Regions from separate parts of the Homo sapiens genome. Here region 2 is linked to region 1. Evidence: promoter capture Hi-C in 16 types of primary human blood cells and fetal thymus (Javierre and others, 2016). All regions are on one chromosome and are shown on one strand. The core of a region is centred on a gene start or on the middle of the fragment in contact, and the rest is flanking DNA. Distances in the headings are between cores, read along the strand shown. Region 1 holds the start of STAU1 (staufen double-stranded RNA binding protein 1). Region 2 overlaps STAU1 (staufen double-stranded RNA binding protein 1).

What was found. The method cuts DNA at HindIII sites, captures the fragments that hold promoters and counts their contacts. A CHiCAGO score of 5 or more calls a contact.
Region 2: a contact is called between a fragment that was not itself captured here and the fragment with the promoter of STAU1 in region 1, in 2 of 17 cell types (naive CD4 T cells and activated CD4 T cells). The highest score is 5.4, in naive CD4 T cells.

Annotation. Positions count from the first base shown.
Region 1 is chr20:49,186,155-49,192,146 of GRCh38, forward strand. STAU1 (staufen double-stranded RNA binding protein 1) reads right to left here and starts at 2,180. Exons shown (of 14, transcript NM_017453.4): 1 at 1,962-2,180. RefSeq lists an enhancer at 924-993 and silencers at 1,394-1,553, 1,784-2,453. The HindIII fragment of the contact is 4,529 bases long and covers 1,006-5,534 here.
Region 2 is chr20:49,113,501-49,119,608 of GRCh38, forward strand. It overlaps STAU1 (staufen double-stranded RNA binding protein 1), which reads right to left. Exons shown (of 14, transcript NM_017453.4): 10 at 4,833-4,908; 11 at 4,277-4,596; 12 at 3,626-3,748; 13 at 2,282-2,367; 14 at 1-1,393. The coding sequence ends at 1,378. Among named protein-coding and RNA genes, the nearest start is that of CSE1L, 70 kb to the left of the region's middle. RefSeq lists a silencer at 4,257-4,414. The HindIII fragment of the contact is 1,217 bases long and covers 4,039-5,255 here.

The sequences.
Region 1 (5,992 bases), core at 930-3,429:
GGCCAACATGGCAAAACCCCGTCTCTACGAAAACTACAAAAATTAACACGGCGCGGTGGCGGGCGTCTGTAATCCCAGCTACTCGGGAGGCTGAGACGGGAGAATCTTTTGAACCAGGGTGGCAGAGGTTGAAATGAGCCGAAATCGCGCCACTGCACTCCAGCCTGGGCGACAGCGTGAGACTGTCTCAAAAAAAAAAAAAAATTCAAACAAACATTTTAAATTACAAACAATGGTAAGACTGTCAGAAAATTCTAGGAAAATGTCAAAAACAAGGAGGCCACTTTGCCGCATGTGTGTTAAGAGATGGGTATAAATCAAAATAGTTTCAGTTCACTAAGGAAATTTAATGCCTAAAACAATCCTAAGATACAGGAGGATCACTCAGGTAAACACACACTCCTTACTCATATAAAATTGAACACCCATAAGTTGCATTTCCTTAGAGTACACCTATAAAACTAAGTACAGAATTTTTAAAAACCCAGTATGTTTTAGTAAAGTTGCTGTTCTAAAAATCCCACCTGTCACCAGGATAACCGAAACTGCTCCCTCTACACTCCAACTGTATTTTTAGTTTTTACCTCAACAAGTAGCAATGCAATTTACACTTGGTAAGCACGGATTCCTGAAACGCCAAAATCAACCGGGAACCTGATTTAACTCCACCACGCTCTTAACAATGAAAGCTACAAGCAGAAGAGAAGTGTGACCTTAAAAACTTCCACACAGCCGAAGAACAGTGGCAGAACAGACTGAAGCACGTATCTTCGCGGAACAGAAGAAAACTTCCACACAAGCAATACTGCAACACGGAGGCGGGGCAAGGGCTTAAAAGGAAAGTCAGCCAACAGGGAGGGGTGAATATAAGCAAAGCTTCCGTGAAAAAAAACTTATCGAGGTGTAGAGCAAGACAAGACAGACAAATTTTTCCATCTCCGTACACCCCCCTTCAGAGCCCAACACACAGCAAGTGCTCTAGATAGGTTTGCTCAACTCAAGGGAAGCTTCTGCCAGCAACTTTCCCAGAAATGGAATGACAAGAAGAAGCTGGATGATGGCGGGGCGGGGAGAAATGGACAGGTTGCTCATCCTGCGGGAGATGGTGAATATCCTGCAGTTGCCTAAGCGGAGATGGAAAGAAACAGCATCCATCGTTTACAGACTGTCAACTACAGTGTCCCAATTAAGCGTACGCCCCTTTCAGATGTTAACAACTGAAAACAATGCCCTGGCTCTGGACATGGGCACGCGGAACACTGCAGCCTCTAAGAAACCCAAACGGATAGGTAGGTCAACTTCTATCCACTCTGCCCATTAAATTATACCTTCATATCACGCTAATAAATTATGCAGACGGTTTACTGGGACACGCTGTGGGTCTGGCACTCTGATAAGCGCTTTACACGCCCCATTTCACTGAACCTTAAGAGGCAGGGACGGTATTAGCAGCCCCTTTTCCAACCAAGACACAAAGACTTTTTAAGTGTCTTGCCTAACGGGGCAGAGCCGGGTTCGGCACCCGTTTTGGACACCTGGGCCGTGCTCTTAACCACTAAGCTACAGACCTGGGCCGGCGACACTGAGAGGCTCCAGCCCTCGGGGACCTGAAGCAGGGACCCCCCCCCCCCCCCGCCTGCGCCCCAGCCCCGGGAATAACTTCGGCATCCCCGCGCGCGCCATGCGGGACGAGGAAAGGCGGCCGCAGCACCTGTTTGTGGCACCGGTGAGGGCTGGAGGGGATGGGGGCGCCCGGGGCCAGGCCTCAGGGCGCCCCGAGGCGAGGGAACGCAAGAGGACCCGCCTCCTCCGGGAAGGCCCCGCGGGCTAGAGAGAGGCCCGGGAGAAGGCGGAGGGGTGCGCGGGCCCGCCGAGGCCTAGGCCCCACCCGCCGCCCACCTCCCCACCGCGGCGGCGCCCGCGAGGGCCCCACCAGGCCCGGCCCGGCCCGGCCGCCTCACCTGGCTGCTGCTCCGAGCTCGTCCCCCGGCCGGCGGTCCTGGGCGGTGGCGGCGAGGAGGGGAAGGAAGAAGGAAAAAAGGGAGAGGAAGAAGGGACGAAGGGAGGGAAGAGGCGGAGTGGCCGTGGAGGAGGCGGGCGCCGCCGGGCCGGGGGGGGGAGGCGGTCAAAGGAAGCGGGAGCCGAGAGAGACGCGGCAGCCGCCGGCGCAAACGCTGAAGAGCCGCTCAGGCGCCCGCAGCCCGGCAGGAAGTGACGGGGGAGGGGCAGGCGCCCGCCCCCGGCCCCCGCCCGCCTCCAGGCCCGGCCCCGGCCCCACCCCCACCCACGGTCCGAACCACAAGTTCCGGCTGGCACTGCGGCGGAGCCTGCGCTCGCAAGGCACGCCGGGGGCCCAGCGGGAGGAGCGCCCTGTCCCGCCTGGACCGCAGCGGCCCGTCCTGAGTCCCGGGGCCTGCCGGGAGTTGTAGTTCTGGTGGGAGTTTCGCGCTGCCTGCTGGACTCGAAGCGGGTCTGGGAGAACCCAGCCTACCTTCTTTCCTCCTCCACTTCCTTTTTCCTTCCTTGCTGTCGCTTCTTCCTCTTGTCCTGCCTCTGGCCTTCCTTTCTCTCCTTCCTGCAGTTGTTTCTTCCTCCATCTGTAAATGTTCATTAAATGCTTGCCATATGCAAGGCATTGCTCCAAGAGCTAAGAATGTAGTGGTGAACTGACAAAAATCCCTGCCCTCGTGGAGCTTACATTCTTGTGTAAGTAAAATACACAATAAATAAAATTGAAAAATGTGTAGTGAGATAAAAGACAATGGCCCGGGCGCGTTGGCTCAGGCCTCTAATCCCGGCACTTTGGGAGGCCGAGGCGGGCGGATCACTAGGTCAAGAGATCGAGACCATCCTGGCTACCACGGTGAAACCCCCGTCTCTACTGAAAATACAAAAAATTAGCCGGGCGTGGTGGCGGGCGCCTGTAGGTAAACAGCTACTCGGGAGGCTGAGGCAGGAGAATCGCTTGAACCCGGGAGGCGGAGATTGCAGTGAGCTGAGATCGCGCCGCTGCACTCCAGCCTTGGCGACAAAGAGACACTGGTCTCAAAAAAAAAAAAAAAAAAAAAAAAAAAAAAAAAAAAAAAGACGAGAAGTGCCAGATTACTATTTATTTCACCCAGACCTAGATAAACTAAGTGGTTTTTAGCAGCTGTATTGTATGGGAGGTTGGAGAGAGGGTGGCCAGTAAAGAATCTTGGCCAGGCGCAGTGGCTCACGCCTGTAATCCCGGCACTTTGGGAGGCCGAGGTGGGCGGATCACCTGAGGTCAGGAGTTCGAGACCAGCCTGACTAACATGGTGAAACCCCGTCTCTACTAGCCGGATGCAGTGGTGGGCGCCTGTAATCACAGCTACTTGGGAGGCTGAGGCAGGAGAATCTCTTGAACCCGGGAGACGGAGGTTGCAGTGAGCCGAGATCACGCCATTGCACTCCAACCTGGGCAACAGAGTGAGACTCTGTCTCAAAAAAAAAAAAAAAAAAAAAAAGAATCTTGAACTTCTGCACACTCAGCGAAAATTATGCTCGCGTTGTGAGAGGTCCAAGAAACTGAGAATGAATGAAGGAACTGCAGGTGCACAGAGCTTCTCTCTCCCGCTCACTCTGGGACTGCCGCCCCACTATTTAAAAATAATTCTCTCTTTCTTAAATGTCTCTCAATCTAATAATTGCTCAATCTCTCTTGCCAACGGAATATAAATTCAAAATACGAGCTGCTGTGTCTGAAGAGGCCCCTCCAAACAAGGCTTTGGAGCCTTAGCGAAGCCTGGGAGGACACTTGCCTCCTTACATTGCTTCTTGTGAAGTGCAATGACACTGAATTTCAGAACACCAAAAATAGTCAAAGGACTTTCACCGTCCCTTTAGTGCCCATCCAAGACAGTAGTAAGCAACATTCAGATATTGTCCAGCCCTCTGCTAAAAGTGATCTTTTCTTTCTAACTTCCAAGCAGTGTGGATCCCATACCTCCTTGGGTAAAGGAGCAGATGCAGAGAGGTCTCCCTAAACCCAAAGCTGCGCACAATCAGACAATCTCGTCAAAGGTGATTTTGCTATCACCCATAGGGACAAAAGTGGTGGGTCTATGACTTCCAGTCTCAATTTTCTTCCCTCTTTCCTCCTTCCGCATCTTTTTTGTTTTTTTCTTGAGACAGGGTCTCGCTCTGTCACCTAACTAGAGTGCAGTGGCATGAGCACAGCTAACTGCAGCCTCAACCTCCTGAGCTCAAGAAATCCTCCTACCTCAGCCTCCTGAGTAGCTGGGACCACAGGCATGTGCCACCACTCCCAGCTAATTTTTTAATTTTTTATAGAGACAGGGTTTTACTAAGTTGCCCAGGGTCTTACTAAGTTACTAAGTTGACCAGGCTGGTCTCAAATTCTAGGCTCAAGCAATCCTCTTGCCTCAATCTTCCAAAGTACTGGGGGGATTATTCCAGGTGTGGGCCACCATACCTGACCAGGAGTAGGTCACCTAGATTTGTTTTCTTCTGTTTGTACCTAGAAACTATCAGTCAAGTTCTCTTCCAAGGTCCTGAAGACCTCTTGAGTCTTGCTAAGTAATTAAGGAATCATTTTTCTTTACCTTGAGAAAAAGATGGAAGCTGTGTGTTCTTGGTTCACAAGAAACTGTGAGCATTAAGTATGTTACGATAAATTATGTGTGTTCCTTCTCACAAGATAAATTATGTGCATCTGTACTAAGGAATGGGAACATGCAAAACTCATAAAAGCCCTGTGAGATGCTGAATTTTTTTTTTTTTTTTTTGAGACAGAATCTCACTCTGTTGCCCAAGCTGAAGTGCAATGGTGTGATCTCGGCTCTCTGATGCAAAGCTCATAAAAGCCCTGTGAGACATTTATTTTTATTTTTAATTATTTTTTTTTTTTGAGACAGAGTCTCCCTCAGTCACCCAGGCTAAAGTGCAGTGGCGCGATCTCGGCTCACTGCAACCTCCACCTCCCGGGCTCAAGCAATTCTCCTGCCTCAGCCTCCCGAGTAGCTGAGACTACAGGCGCTTGCCACCATGCCCTGTAATTTTTGTGTTTTTAGTACAGACGGGGTTTCGCCATGTTGGCCAGGCTGGTCTCGAACTCCTGGCCTCAGGTGATCCACCCGCCTCGGCCTCCCAAGGTGCTGGGATTACAAGTGTGAATGTTAACCTCTGATGAATTATCTGTTCCACTCTCATAGCCTCTTAGTAGAACTTTGCACCCTTATAATTTTCAATTATCTGTTGAGTATATCTATTAGGCTAGAACTAAGTGATCAACTTCCATGACAGCAGAGACTCAGCCTGTCTTAGTAGTCATGATGGTCCCTGGCCCATAACACAGTGCCAGGGACACAATAGTACATGATAAATTTCCGTAGACTGCTGAAAAATTACAGCCTTGCTTATCTCTGCGCAAGTCCCTAAGAAACAGGGAACACCTGTAGGGTTGATTGGTGTATGTCAGGGTCACCTGTGGTATGTGTAGCACAGGAGAACAAGGTTGAGAACTACTTGCTGGCCTAAATAAGTAATTCCCAAGCTTATTTGAGGTAGCCTGCACTCCTAGGGATATATCAGAATCTAAGAGCAACAATTAGAAGACATAAAAATATAATGGGGCCGGGCGCAGTGGCTTACACCTGTAATCCCAGCACTTTGGGAGGCCAAGGCAGGCGGATCTCTTGAGGTCAGGAGTTCGAGACCAGCCTGGCCAACATGGTGAAACCCCATCGCTACTAAACATACAGAAATTAGCCAGCCGTGGTGGTATGCAACTTTAGTCCCAGGTACTCGGGCATGTGAGGCAGGAGAATCACTTGAACCTGGGAGGCAGAGGTTTCAGTGAGCTGAGATCACGCCACTGTATTCCAGCCTAGGCAAGAGAGCGAGACTCCATCTCAAAAAACAAAATGAGGCTGGGCACGGTGGTTCACGCCTGTAATCCCAGCACTTTGGGAGGCCGAGGAGGGCAGATCATGAGGTCAGGAGATCGAGA
Region 2 (6,108 bases), core at 3,397-5,896, 70 kb before region 1:
TGAGAATAAATTAACAAAAAAATTTAGTATTACCATTTATTGATGACAAACACTTAAGTTTTACTTACATTCCATGGGGAGAAAAATTCCAGCGTAAACAATGAATGGAAGCAGTACTTAACTCGCAGGGCTACCAGGCTTTCCATACGGACCACACGCAGAGCCTCAGTGCACACACTTCTGTGTACAGTAACACAACATCAAAAGCAACACAGCTGTATACAGAAACGTAGGTCATTCTTTTCAGCCCTAATGGAGATGTAATTAACAGTATCGAGCACTCTGGAAAATCACTCTGCAGGTTTATATGGACTACATGGAGATCATATCCTGTAGTGTAGTGAAAGCTAAGTCCTCAAGAGCCATATGTATAGATACACAATGTTTTTTAATAATCTTTAAAACAGAGATCAAAGTTCATTTAAGTCCTGTTTGCATTAACAAAAATAAAAATGAAATAAAAATGGAACCAAATGATCATCTAAAGTTTAAAATTCCTAAATTGTCCAATTTATACAACTGTGGGAGACTTATTCAAGGTTTTTGAAAGTCCAGGACTGTTTCAGCTGAACCAGAGGGCACACAATTTGCATCACTGAAACTGTCCTGGGTTAGTCAATGAAATAAAAATGTCTAACCACATACACATGGATATGATCTTTGTCGGTTAGATTATTGATAAAGTCAGTCTCAGACAAGTTTCCAAACTGTGCTATTTAACTAGATACAATTGAGAAATTCTCAAATGAAAATTTTATATAGTGTCATATCAATCAAAAGAAAATAATGAAACTAAGAATACAGATCACTGTTGGAAGAGAAAGCAGTGGTGATGGTGTGGGTACTGCAGGAGGTGGTGGGGCCGTGGCACACTAGAAAAGTTGGGTCACGCTGAGTAGGAAGCATTTGATTTTCTCTGGTGCTTTTAGCTCTGGGGCCGGTCAAAGGCCTCTCTCTGGCATGGCTGTCCAGGGTTTGTCCCAATGTGTCTGAGTGAGCCAGCTTGAGAAGGGGTCGTGCCGTTTCTTCTTTCACACAGGGGAAAAAAAAGACCAAACACGGAGGTGCCCAGGGTGTGGATCTGCTGGTGTCCCGGGAGAACCAGCTGGCTGGGCAGCCCTTCTTCCCCACAGGCAGCTGCTATTGCGTAGGGACCGCCAGGTCACCGAGTGGCCATCACAACAAACCCCAGCACAGTCCAGCCCGGCCACAGCCGCCTCCTTGTGTTTCTGTTGTCTTCCCTGCTGCTGCCCACATCCTTTACCCACCGTGTCTCTCGGCCCACTGGAGGTATCAGAAATTCCAAATTTTCAAAGCAGTTTCAGTATTTTCAGTATATATGTTGGGATTTTATAATGGTTCATGGCCAGAAAAGGTTCAGCACCTCCCACACCTTTAAGGAAGAAAAATGAAAATGACACTAGTTTTGAAATGTAAGAGAATTAAAGTACTGTTAAAAATGAAAAGAAATTGGCAAACATCAGGAAGTACAATACTAAAAGCCCCAGTTTATGATAACAAAAGTTTTCCCAGGGTATGCCAGTAAGTAAAATACGCAAGGAGAGTGTGTGTACTTATCTCTGTGGGGGGAAAGGAAGAAAATGAGGGAAGAAATATATGTCTATATTTGTATAAAGAAACATACAGGAAAGATACAGGAGAAACTAGTAAAAATGTGATCTATGGGGGAGGCGGTGGGGAGAATAGGAGGGATGGGATGGGGGCTGTCCGAGGGGAAGATTGTACCTTGTAAAATAATGCAGAGTTCTGACCATGTGAAGGTATGACCAACTCAAAAAGGTTTTTTTGTTTTTTTTTGGGACGGAGTCTTGCTCTGTCGCCCAGGCTGGAGTGCAGTGGCGCTATGTCGGCTCACTGCAACCTCCGCCTCCCAGGTTTTAAGCAGTTCTCTGCCTCGGCCTCCCAAGTAGCTGGGATTACAGGTGCCTGCCACCACACCTGGCTAATTTTTGTATTTTTAGTAGAGACAGGGTTTCACCATCTTGGCCAGGCTGGTCTTAAACACCTGACACCTCATGATCCACCTGCCTTGGCCACCCAAAGTGCTGGGATTACAGGTGTGAGCCGCTGTTCCCAGCCTCAAAATGTCTTTTAAAAGTAGAGCTTTCTGCCCAGAGAATCTGGAAAACTTTCAGGCAAAAGGGCCAGAAAGTAACTCAGGCAAATATTTCCCCGCTGAGTCAGCAGATAGTGTAAACTCAACACAAACGAGGGGCAGCCTCCCCATCATCAGCGCCTTCCCCTTCATCAGTGCACTCACACAGACATTGGTCCGTTTCCTGTTCTTGGCATCTCTGTACTTTGTTGGTCCAACTCAGACAGCAACTTTAAGATGTTCAGCGCAGCCTAGTGGGGATGGAAAGAAGGGTAAAGCCACAGCCACCGCTTGGGACCACAGCATAATACACTGGTCAGGCAGGCAAGAGAGTTCCTGCTGCCCAGCAAACAGGTGGCAACTTCTTCAACTCTGGTACTACTAAATAAAACTTTGAATTTTTAATTTAAAATACAAATTAAAAAATATTCAGTTACCTCACTGAATCATAACCTCTGAAAATGTTATATTTTTCCTTCTAGTATTTTTAACCATGTGGTAACCAGACTGTATAAATGTTATATCCTGCTTTCTAACAAAAATCTATCATGTATTTTTCTTTCTATAGAGACAGGGTCTCACTAAGTTGCCCAGGCTGGTCTCAAACTCCTAGGCTCAAGCGATCCTTCCACCTTGGCCTCCCAAAGTGCTGGAATTACAGGTGTGAGCCTCCACACCCGGCCTATCATGTATTTTTCTTCTTATTACATTATCTTCGGAGACACTGTTTTGTTTTGAAACGCAGTCTCACCCAGCTGCCCAGGCTGGAGTGCAGTAGTGCAATCTTGGCTCACTGCAACCTCCACCTCCCGGGTTCAAGCGATTCTCCTGCCTTGGCCTCCCAAGTAGCTGGGATTACAGGCACCCACCACCACACCTGGCTAATTTTTTTTTGTATTTTTAGTAGAGATGGGGTTTCACCACGTTGGCCAGGCTGGTCTTGAACTCCTGAGCTCAGGTGATCCGCCTGCCTCAGCCTCCCGCAGTGCTGGGATTAGTGTGAGCCACCACACCCCACCCAGAGACATTAATTTCATGCATGCATGACATCCCATCAAGTGAATACATCACAGTTTACTTAGATTTGTTGATCTGATCAATTCCTTTTCTCAGTTTTCTTATAACAATAATTTCATCTGAACAGAAGACCAAAGCAAGTGGTTTTTACAGCTGCCAGAACGTGGACCTGCAATTCCTTGTTCTGGTGAGAGATGAAGTGAGTGCAGTCTCTGGGTGAGCTGCAGGATCCCAGTTGCCCCTCCAGGCCAGCAGGGAAAAGGAAGGGAAAGGTGGGCTAAAGCTGATGAGTTCTGATCAAGAGTGAGAAATCGATCCAATCAGCTATGACAAAAAGTCTTCAAAAATATGAACACTATCAAACGATTCATTGCTCTCAAGGTCTATGGGACAATCTTTCTCCCATCTTCCTCAGGCTAGTAACAAGCTGAACCAAGGCAGGCTCCACATAAACACACAACACCCCAATCCCTCACCCAAGGTGTGACGTACCATATCATGGCAGGACTCCACATCCTTGCCGATACCATGGCTGATCAGAGGTGGCTGAGAGGAGCAATTGATAAGAGATACAAATTCGTTCTTGTTGTTTTTGGGGAAGTCTTTGTATTCAACCTAAGGGGGAAAAGAGAGCTGAGGCTAGGTAGGGAACAGCAAGTATGAGTGGGCTGGAGGGCTGCAGCTCCAGGCCCCACAAGCAAGATCACCAGCTCTTTTTTCCAACTCAGCCCCACTGTGGCCATACTAACACCTGCCCTGTCAGCCCAGAACCTTCCAGGAACCTAGGTGTCTGCTCAGAAGCCCAAGACTGGGAGAAGCCATATCCTTTCCTACCAGACAGAAAGTGTCAGCACGATGAGTCTGTTCTTTGAAATCCAAATTTACAACCACTGCTAGTGGTTAGAAGCTTTTAGGGTTGGCTTGCATGTTGAAATCTTACTACCAAAGGATAAAGATATTTCTCTTACCACATATGCTTACAATACTTCTATACCTCCTACCCTTCCATCACTGCTCCCCAGCCCATCCCTGGACAGAACTTGATTTAAGAAAAAAGTACAAAGTTCAAAGTTCATTTTCTGAGAGAAGCCAAAAGATGACTGTCCTGAGGCACAGCCATCACAGCTCAGGCCAGACAGTTACCTGGAATCCCTGGACTCTGGAAAGATAGTCCAGTTGCTCAGAGGGTCTCGTGAGAGGTCCATGGGGTACGTGGCCTGAAGAGATGTTATTCTTTAAAATGGTCTCGGCTGTGGGCGAGGTGCCCCCATACAACAACTCTCGGGCTATCATGGCAGTTACCGTGGCCTTGGCAGGATTCGGAGCTGCCCTGGTAAAATCTTTGGTGTGATGTCCTTGACTAACTCCTACAGCCTGGGCGACCTCGGGCACCATGGGAAGAATTCCAGCAGGCAGCTGCTGATGACTTAGATAAGGCATCCTGAACTCATCCTCTTTATTACCTGGGAGGGACATACACGGTAAACACGAATCCACATCCACAGCCTGGAAAAACGCAATGACACCATCAAACCCCACGCTGGCCCTCCCCTTGGCACGCATGGCAGCGCAGGGAATCAGGGAATGATAAAGACACTTTGCATGCGGGACCTCACTGGCTGGGCTCCTGCTGTTATTCAGGACCCATGCAAATCCCAGAATCACGTTCAGAGGAAGACGATATTAAGATCACACTTACTAGTCCCATTTTCATCCCCAGAGCCAGGTTCAAAAAAGGTTACTTTTCTTCCATCCCCTGGTTTCTTTATGGGTGTCTTAAAAAAGAAGAAGAAAAAAAAAAGGCCATGAGCATAAATCAGATCACTGAAAAATTAGCTCCTGCTGTCTAAATCTACACAAAGTCCAGTCAGCAATAACTGTGGCAATCGGCAGAAAAACCCTGCCCCACCTGACCACTGGCACCCTGACAGACACCTGGGCAGAGCCTGCCTCCTTCTCCTAATGCACCCTCCTGCCCACACCCCTGCCCACAAAGAGCATCTAACAAAGTGCACTAACCTGTGAATGCTGAGCTGCACTCTGCACCCACAGGAAGACGGGAAGCATTTAACCAGAAAGAGCAGAGATGCTAGACGGTAGAGCCCACCAAGGTGGGGAAAGAAGCTTTCAGACTGAAGCTAAACAAATAAATCAAGAATATTTCCTGGAGCTGATATCCAATTAAAAAATAAGGTGACATTCCAAAATTAACACCCTTACGGGGAAAATGTTATTACCTAAGAATTTTGTCTAACACAACATCACCTTTCTAAGAAGTAACAAAGGACACTCTGAATGTCCTACAAGATTCTGAAATGAAAAACCCTAAAGCCAAGTCTAAGATCTATACTGGTGGTATCTGGGGTCCCAGTCAGTTATTAACTGGCCATGACTGATGCTGTTTCTGTCAATATGACTGGCAGACATGAATGAATCAGGCCTGATTTCAAGTTTATCTCACCAGGACCATTCAGTGATGGGAAAGAAGAAGGTCAGCCATGGCTTTTGCTGAGGTCCTGCTTACCACTTCTGGCAGACACGAATTTTTCTTTTTACGTTCCTTTTTTGTTGTTGTTGAGACAGGGTCTGTCGCCCAGGCTGAGTGCAGTGGCATGATCACAGCTCACTGCAGCCTTGACCTTCCAAGGCTCAATCCTCCCATCTCAGCCTTGTAGCTCGGGCTACAGGTACAAGCCACCATACCTGGCTGATATTTTAATTTTTTGTAGAGACAGGGTTTCATCATGTTGCTCAGACTGGTCTTGAACTCCTGGATTCAAGGCCTCAGCCTCCCAAATTACAAGTTTGAGCCACCACACCTGGCCGTGAATTTTTCAACAGGGGATTATTTTCATCTGATGTTTAACTCACATAGGAAAAAAGAAATCCCAAACCTAAACTTTGGATTTGGCCTGTCTCTACTGTCACACTGTCTTATTTTGCCAGAAAAATCAAAGCCTATTCCACAATTAACG